Regions from separate parts of the Homo sapiens genome. Here region 2 is linked to region 1. Evidence: promoter capture Hi-C in human tissues and cell types (Jung and others, 2019). All regions are on one chromosome and are shown on one strand. The core of a region is centred on a gene start or on the middle of the fragment in contact, and the rest is flanking DNA. Distances in the headings are between cores, read along the strand shown.

Region 1 (4,373 bases), core at 491-2,990:
AGACTATAATGACTACTAGGAGGGAAGATGTTCTGGTCTTTTAGTACCTTTCCAAAATGCTGATTAGGCACATGGCTTAGCCTATCAATGTATGTAATAACAACTTGATCACATGAATGTCAGTACACATAATACATTTCTTAAGGTTTTGGTGTGCCATCTGTCTACAGAACAGTTTTCATCAGCATGTACAAAAACACAGATGGAGATTGTAGACTTTTTCTGAAAATGGTGGTATATTCTCATGTGGGGCTGGGAGACCAATGCAGCGTTTTCCACACTGGGTTTGATTATGGTTCTAAGATTTACCAGTAAGCCTGCAGCTAATTAGGGGGAGGCAAAGGAGGGAATCAGCAACTTGCGGTCCCTGCATGCACTGCTAGGTGTTTAGCTTCATAGGACTTCACCCAGTTTTCTTTTGCCTAGCTCTGCTAGTTATGAGGAAACATTTTTTTCTCGGTAGCTACTGCTGTCTCTCCTTTTACCACCTGCGCGTTTGCCTTACATGCTGCCTGAGGATTTTCACAAATGACATTGTGAATGTGTTGCTAGCTGTGGTCAAATACTCTTTTAGAATCCCTCGGTGGGTCTAAAGCACAAAGGTGTTTGATTTCATCTTCCTACATACATGTGGAATGACAAAAGACAGTCTGGGGTTTGGAGTCTTCCTCCACACTTGCACATCTGAGGAGTACTTCTAAATCAATAAGTTGGCAGCAATGGAGAAGGCTGTTAGGCAGTCACTTGGGTTCAATGAAACAGTGATACTATTGAAAGGAAAAACACAGGCAAATCATCACGCTAATTTTAAAAAATAAAAGCAATGCTAGAAGGAGGGTGGCAGGGGGAGGGGAGTGAAATGTTCCTGTGTATTTTTCTGCTCTTCGAGCCTCTCACAGATTCTCAGGGTTTCTTTTTATTTTTAGCTCAAGAAGTGTTTAATCTCTTGATTAAATATACCTGCTTCCAGTATTTACTGCTTTTCACCAGCACCTCAAAGTCATACATTTAAAGATTGATTTTATTATTTTTTCATCTCATGAAATTGTTATATTTATAATCGAATTTTTTTTTCTGTCTGGCTGAAGATGGCAGATATAATAGAAAATTAAGAAAACAGCAGCAAAAAACAAAATATAACAACATAAAGCTAAGATCTATAATCTTGCCATTCATTGATTACCATGATTGATATGTTGGTATAGTACACACTTCTAATCTTATGTTTTCCCTACATAAATATAGGCAAAATATTTTTATCAAAACCCTATCATACTGATGAAGTCACTTAAGAAATATAATTGTCTTTCAATTAGAGGATTTTCTGTCTGGGATTTTTTTTGTTGCCTCTTCACACTTCAAGTCCTTCTGGAACGCATGTGTTCTCATAAGTGACCTCAGATGGAACCACCAACCTCCATCTCAGCAGTTTCCATAGGCAAACATTGCAGAATGCTGGGCATGTAATGCATTTCTAGTGAGCTGCATAGGATGAGAAGTGTGCCCTTTGTCTCCAAGGTCATAATGGCTCTGCTGACTTTAATACCTTTCACTGGAGCTAGTGAGGACAACTCGAAAATGCCAGAAAGAGAGAGAGCCCACTGCCCCATGATCTCAAATGAAAAAAAAAAGAGAATACAGAAATCCCCCTACGCACCACCCCCAGGTCCCTTTTGTGTTGTTTTTGCCAACACAGCAGCTTCCCTGCTATATATACCAGTTGCCCCTTTGTCCCTATCATACTAGATGCTAATCACCCTCTGTCAACAACCATGGGGAAGGTGAGCCTGTGGAGGTGCTGTGCCATGTCTATTGGGGGTCTGTGGTGTGTGGGGATGTTCCTTCCAGCTGACTGTCTACTGTCACCTTATTTCTACCTCAGATCACCTTCTACGAGGACCGAGACTTTCAGGGTCGCTGCTACAATTGCATCAGTGACTGCCCCAACCTGCGGGTCTACTTCAGCCGCTGCAACTCCATCCGAGTAGACAGCGGCTGCTGGATGCTCTATGAGCGTCCCAATTACCAGGGCCACCAGTACTTCCTGCGCCGAGGCAAGTACCCCGACTATCAGCACTGGATGGGCCTCAGCGACTCGGTCCAATCCTGCCGTATAATTCCTCATGTGAGTCTTGCTTCAACTTGACTGATGTGAAAGCATCAATGATCCATGGCCATCAATTCCTGTTTATAAAAGTCAGTTTGTTCCAACACAGGATGAGTGTTCACAGTAAGAATAGCAAGGCCTGACCCTCAAACATATATAAAAAAAAAAAGTAACAATAATCTCTATTTTTCTTACTTAAGGACATCATTTTAGGGCATGGGAAATCACAACATAGCCTTTAAATTAAACTTGGTAACATCTAGGTGATCCCTAATTTCTACATAAAAGTCACCTTATTCAGTAGTAAAAAAAAAAAAAAAGAAAGAAAGAAAAAAAAGAAAAGTCTATCTAGTTTATCTAGATAATTTTTTTTTTTGAGACAGAACTTCGCTTTCGCTCTTGTTGCCTAGGCTGGAGTGCAATGGCACAATCTCAGCTCACCACAACCCCTGCCTCCCAGGTTCAAGCGATTCTCCCGCCTCAGCCTCCCTTGTAGCTGGGATTACAGGCATGTGCCACCATGCCCAGCTAATTTTGTATTTTTAGTAGAGACAGAGTTTCTCCATGTTGGTCAGGCTGGTCTCGAACTCCCGACCTCGGCCTCCCAAAGTGCTAGGATTATAGGAATGAGCCACTGCGCCCGGCCATGATAATTATTTTTTAATGATGAAAAGTTAACAGACTATGAGATAACAATATAGGTATAATGTATTCTGACTGCATTGGAAATTTTTTTCACTACATTCTAGGACTTACTAGAACCTAGGAAAATATGTTTCAACTTGTGTGGATTTATAATTTCCAGGAGTCATTATCAACTAGTTTCTTATAAATATCAGAGACACACAATTGATTAGGATTTCATAGAACATGGTCCTCATCAAAATGCTGCTTAATCTTTTTTAATCACGTGCAGCATGTATTTACACTTTCTGTTGGCACCAAATTATGTAGTGTGACAAGGAGATTCAAGAATTGAAATCACGGCCAGGCTCAGTGGCTCACGCCCGTAATCCTAGCACTTTGGGAGGCTGAGCTGGGCAGATCACTTGAGGTCAGGAGTTCAAGACCAGCTTGGCCAACATGGTGAAACCCTGTCTCTACCAAAATACAAAACATTAGCCAGGCATGGTGGTGCATGCCTGTAGTCCTAGCTAAGCAGGAGGCTAAGACAGGAGAATTGCTTGAACCCAGGAGTCGGAGGTTGCAGTGAGCCGAGATCATGCCACTGCACTCCAGCCTGGTGACAGAGCGAGACTTCGTCTAAAAAAAAATAAAAAAATAAAAAAACAAATTTAGGCCAGAAAAATTTGCAGATGCGCAAAGAGGTATAAATAAAATAGGCATTTCTCTGGGGCAAGAAACCCAAATGGCACAAGTGACTTGGCAAAATGTCACTTGAAAATACATGTGGACTCAGTGTAAATATAAATCACTGTAAATTATAAGTGCAAAAAGTGACTCAAAAACAAGCTTGATAAGACTCAATTATATGGAGTCAAAATGGAAATGAGAGTTGAAATCCTCACTACAGACTCACTGACTACAATTGTATTGATGATTGCTTACAAAGAACACACTTTTATTCCCTGTATTTTAATGTTTGTTTCTTCCACAACATCTCCAGTTCATTGATCAGGTCAGATTCGTTTTAATATTTTCCCTAATTTGTTAGAATAACAACATTGAAAGTGGGTTCAGGGGAGAAACACTTTATCAACTGGTTTAAAAAACCATGTTTCAAACCAGGTGCAATCCCAACATTTGTAATCCCAACATTTTGGGAGGCCAAGGTGAGAGAATCACTTGAACCCAGGGATTCAAGACCAGCCTGGGCAATATAGTGAGACTCCCTCTCTACAAAAAAATTTTTAAAAATAAATTAGCCGGGTGTCACAGTGCACACCTGTGATCCCAGCTACTTGGGGGGCTGAGGTGGGAGGATTACTTAAGCCCAGGAGGTGAAAGTTGCAGTGAGCAGTGATCCTGCCACTGTACTCCAGCCTGGGCAACACAGCAAGACCTTTATCTCAAAAATAAAATAAAAGCCATGCTTCATGAAGATGCAGACTGATTGTGTCACTTTCGTTGACACCCAAGGATGCATGCTGTTTATTTTTGTTCTTTTGTTTATTGCCATGACAGACCAGCTCGCACAAGTTAAGGCTGTACGAGAGAGATGACTACCGAGGCCTTATGTCTGAGCTCACTGATGACTGCGCCTGTGTTCCAGAACTGTTCCGTCTCCCTGAGATCTATTCCCTCC
Region 2 (4,373 bases), core at 969-3,468, 41 kb before region 1:
TATTTTTGTTTTTTATGAAAGATTATTTCTAAATGTACAACAAGCTTCAAGACAACACCTCATTCCAGCTATAGGTGGCAAAATGTGCTATGGCAGGGAATCCAAGTGTTTAACTAGGAATGGATCAAGGGCCACCCTTGCCTCAGGCACAAGGAGCAGCTTGCTTTGTGTCAGGATTCCTAACTCCACTGCGTCCAGAGGCCCTTCGCCACGGCCTCGCTTTCAGCATCTCCAGTTTCTGCTGCCCTCCTTGTGTGTCTGCTAGAGAGCCCCATCTTCCTCGTCCATCTCCTTGGCCTGCTTCTTGAGCTGTTTCAGGGGCTTCCATTTGCCACCTTCATGGCTGGATGTGGCACCTGCCACCCCTTTTCCAGACCCTGCCGCTGCAAACCTACGTACTGTTTTAAGTTGTACACATGAATAAACCCACGTAGTTTTTGTAACAGTTTCATGAGGCTGATACTATTAAGATTCTCCTTTTGCAAATGGGAAATTGACGCACAAAAAGGTTAAACAACTCGGGTCGCAAAGCCATTAGTAGCCAAGACAGGATTCCATAAGCCCTACTCTCCACCATCCATATAAATTTGGGATTGTAGGGGGCTAAGAGATAAAATCTACTTTTTCTTTTTGCTCAAATTTGGAGCCACTGAGAGCTAGACACAGAAACCAGGCAAAGAAAATGTCAATTTAATTACTGATGAAGCTGATATTGAAGGAATGGCTTGGATCTAGCGAAGCTCCCTTATTAATACCTGCTAATGCCCTTATTGGGGCTGTCTCACCCCTCAAGTCACTGCATTGCTATATACCACAGGCCTACCTCCCCCATAGGGCCTGATCCTGTCACAGAGGAGTAAACTGAAGGTACTTCCAAATTTATGAGCCAGGTAAGTCAGCAGGGGATGTGTCCTTCCAAGCTTCATGAATATGTATAGAAAGATGTCTGTAAAAATGAATAAATGGCCGTATGGATGAACACATGAAATAGGAGTGACAACCAACCAAGAAGAATTGTAATTATTTTGTATTACAACCCAAAAACAGTAATGTTTCCCAAGAAGATGACTTTGAATGATAATCAATTTTTGAAAGAAGAAAATGAGCTTAAATTAAATGAGCTTTAATCAAAGAGCTTAAATCAAATAATTTTCTGATACTTGTCATCAAGAATATAGCAATTAGGGGACTGGCATGGTGGCTCATGCCTGTAATTCCAACACTTTGGGAGGCCGAGGCTGGTGGATCACTTGAGATGAGGAGATTGGGACCAGCATGACCAACATGGTGAAACCCCGTCTCTACTAAAAATAAAAAAATTAGCTGGGCGTGGTGGCATGCGCCTGTCATCCCAGCTACTTGGGAGGCTGAGGCAGGAGAATTGCTTGAACCTGGGAGGCAGAGGTTGCAGTGAGCTGAGATCACGCCATTGCACTCCAGCCTGGGTGACAAGAGCAAAACTCCGTCTCAAAAAAAAAAAAAAAGAATATACCAATTAGGTATATTATGCCCAGAGTAGAGTGGACACAAAGGAATTTCACCATAGAGATTCTGCAAGTTATTTTTACTCACTGTTTCTGAGAATCCAGCCTTGCTGTCTTCATCTCTTCTGGTATGAACCCTTTTTTGCAGATTATCATGGAATAACTGATGAAATGAATGTTCATATCTCACAAAACACAGGATTTTGGAGGCAGCAAGGGCAATTAAAACTACCTCTCGGCCAGGCACAGTGGCTCACGCCTGTAATCCCAGCACTTTGGGAGGCCGAGGTGGGTGGATCACAAGATCAGAAGTTCGAGACCAGCCTGGCCAACATGGTGAAACCCTGTCTCTACTAAAAATATAAAAATTAGCCAGACATGGCGGTGCACACCTGTAATCCCAGCTACCTAGGAGGCTGAGGCAGGAGAATCGTTTGAACCTGGGAGGCGGAGGTTGCAGTGAGCTGAGATCGCACCATTGCACTCCAGCCTGGGCGACAGGGTGAGACTCCATCTTAAAAAAACAAATAAACAAACAAACAACTACCTCTCTCTAACAGCAATACAAAGATAACTTTTTCTGAGCTGGCACCAAATTTAAAAAGAACTATTTTATTCTTGCAGAAAAGCTCAGTAAAATTCAACTTCATGCTTCTAGATGTGGCTCTAGAGATGGGATCTAATCTAACAGAACAGATTATAAATAACTCTGTTTCTAAATTTTGCTCATCCCAGGCACATTAAGATGGACCCATGACAATTACTAATTCTTCTGTCCATTTGTAGAATTTTTAATTGAAATACAATAAATATATAGAAAACAGCACATATCATGAGTATACAGCTCGGTGAATTTTTACAAGTTGAACATTCCCTTGTTAGCCCCAGATCAAGACCCAGAATGTTAGAGAACACAGGAAGTCCCCAGATGTGCCCCTTCCACATCCTGGCAACAAAGATTTAGTAACCGTTCCCCTGGCTTCCAAAAGCCTAGAGTCGTTTTACCATTTTTTGTACTTTATATACATGAATCAGATCATGTGTGTTCTGCGACTGCCTTCTTTCATTCTACTGTGTTAGTGAGACGAGTCTTTAGTTGAGTATAGTTTACACAGTTTTTTGAGGCAAGTTTGCTTTTGAGAATTTAAGGAATGGAATGAAACAAGGTTTCATGTGATTAACACAGGCAATTCACTTCTTCACTTTAGGATCAACAAGGCATGGCTTATCACAGTATCAAATATCCTAGGACAAATGGGAAAGCTAACTATAATTTATTTCAACAAGGAGGGAGATGGATAAAGGAGCGCTGTTTTGAACAACCTGAAGCTTCTGTTTCATGTTTGAAGCCTTCTAAAGTGTGTTTGTAACAACAAGGTCACTTGGGCTCTCAATTATGAGGCCTGGCTTCTGGCCTCAGCTTATCTGTGGCCTTAGGGATATTTCTTGTCCTCTGAGGCAGAAAATTTTACTCAATATTACCCTTCTAGTTCTTACAGCCTGTGATTCCATGTTTCCAACTCAAATCCCTTGACCATCTATCCAAACAGCGATCCCGCCTGCATCCAAACCAGCTGGTACAGAGAAAAGCCACAGTTTTAAGTTAGAAGTAATAAAATCAGTCTAATTTTACAAGTTAACTTTCCTTTTTTTCTTTTCTGTTCTTTCTTTTTTTTTTTTTTTTGACAGAGTCTTTCTCTTTCACCCAGGCTGGAGTGCATTGGCACAATCTGGGCTCACTGCAGCCTCCCCAGGTTCAGGTGATTCTCATGCCTCAGCCACCCGAGTAGCTGGGATTACAGGCATGTACCACCAAGCCTGGGTAATTTTTGTGTTCTTAGTAGAGATGGGGTTTCTCCATGTTGGCCAGGCTGGTCTCGAACTCCTGATCTCAAGTGATCTGCCTGCCTTGTTCTTCTAAAGTGCTGGGATTACAGGCATGAGCCACCACGCCTGGCCTAATAGGTAATATTTTAAACATACAAGTTCTGTAACATACAGTTTCTATCTTAAGATATCTTTAACAGCTTGTGTATCTAATAAGGAGACTTTTTTTTTTTTTGAAGCAGTCTTACTCTGTTGCCCAGACTGGAATGCAGTGGCGTGACCATGGTTCACTGCAGTCTCGACCTCCCTGGACTTAGGTGATCCTCCTGCCTCAGCTTCCCAAGTAGCTTGGACTACAGGCACGTGACACTATAGCCAGCTTTTTTTTTTTTTTTTTTTTTTTTTAAATTCTGTAGAGACGGGGTGTGGCCAAGTTGCCCAGGCTGGTCTGGAACTCCTGGGCTCAAGCAATTCACCCACTTGGCTTCCCAAAGTGCTGGGATTACAGGCATGAGCCACCACATCTGGACCTAATAAGTAGACTTATCTTAGAGTGTGGATGAGGATGAAGTGACAGGCCAGGGGGTCTATTATGTCTCCACCTCATATTCACCCCACTCTTGACATCACTCTAATTGTATCTACACTTGGAGTTGAAGAAAACAAACACAAAAATCTTCATGGGTCAACTTTAAACTTATATCTTATTTCTAGATCACGATGGATTCATATCCTTTTCTTCCGATTATTTTCTAAACAGCACATTTATATTACATTATAATTCAAATATTTTTATATTTAATTCACCATTTAAAACATATGACAGTTTTTACAAACAAATTTTGACTTTTTATTTTCATTTTTCCTATTATACTGCAATTCTATAAAGATAGAAATGCTGCTCAGCCTCAATGTGAGAGGCGTTGCTGGCAGGAAGCTAGGAGAATCTCTTCTATTCACTGCCCTCATAAAGGACAAATACCAATAGGACAAAGACTCTGCCTTCAAGAAGAACACAGTGAAGAAAAGACAGTTAATATGGCCACCTTAATTTTTTTCCAA

What was found. Contacts are between HindIII fragments. The study calls those that stand out against the background at their distance.
Region 2: a fragment that was not itself captured here is called in contact with the fragment with the promoter of CRYGA in region 1 in 1 of the 25 tissues and cell types used here (H1 embryonic stem cells).

Annotation. Positions count from the first base shown.
Region 1 is chr2:208,160,956-208,165,328 of GRCh38, reverse strand. It overlaps CRYGA (crystallin gamma A), which reads left to right and starts at 1,740. Exons shown (of 3, transcript NM_014617.4): 1 at 1,740-1,781; 2 at 1,883-2,125; 3 at 4,253-4,373. The coding sequence starts at 1,773. The HindIII fragment of the contact is 14,122 bases long and covers 1-4,373 here.
Region 2 is chr2:208,202,414-208,206,786 of GRCh38, reverse strand. No RefSeq gene overlaps it. Among named protein-coding and RNA genes, the nearest start is that of C2orf80, 15 kb to the right of the region's middle. The HindIII fragment of the contact is 3,472 bases long and covers 483-3,954 here.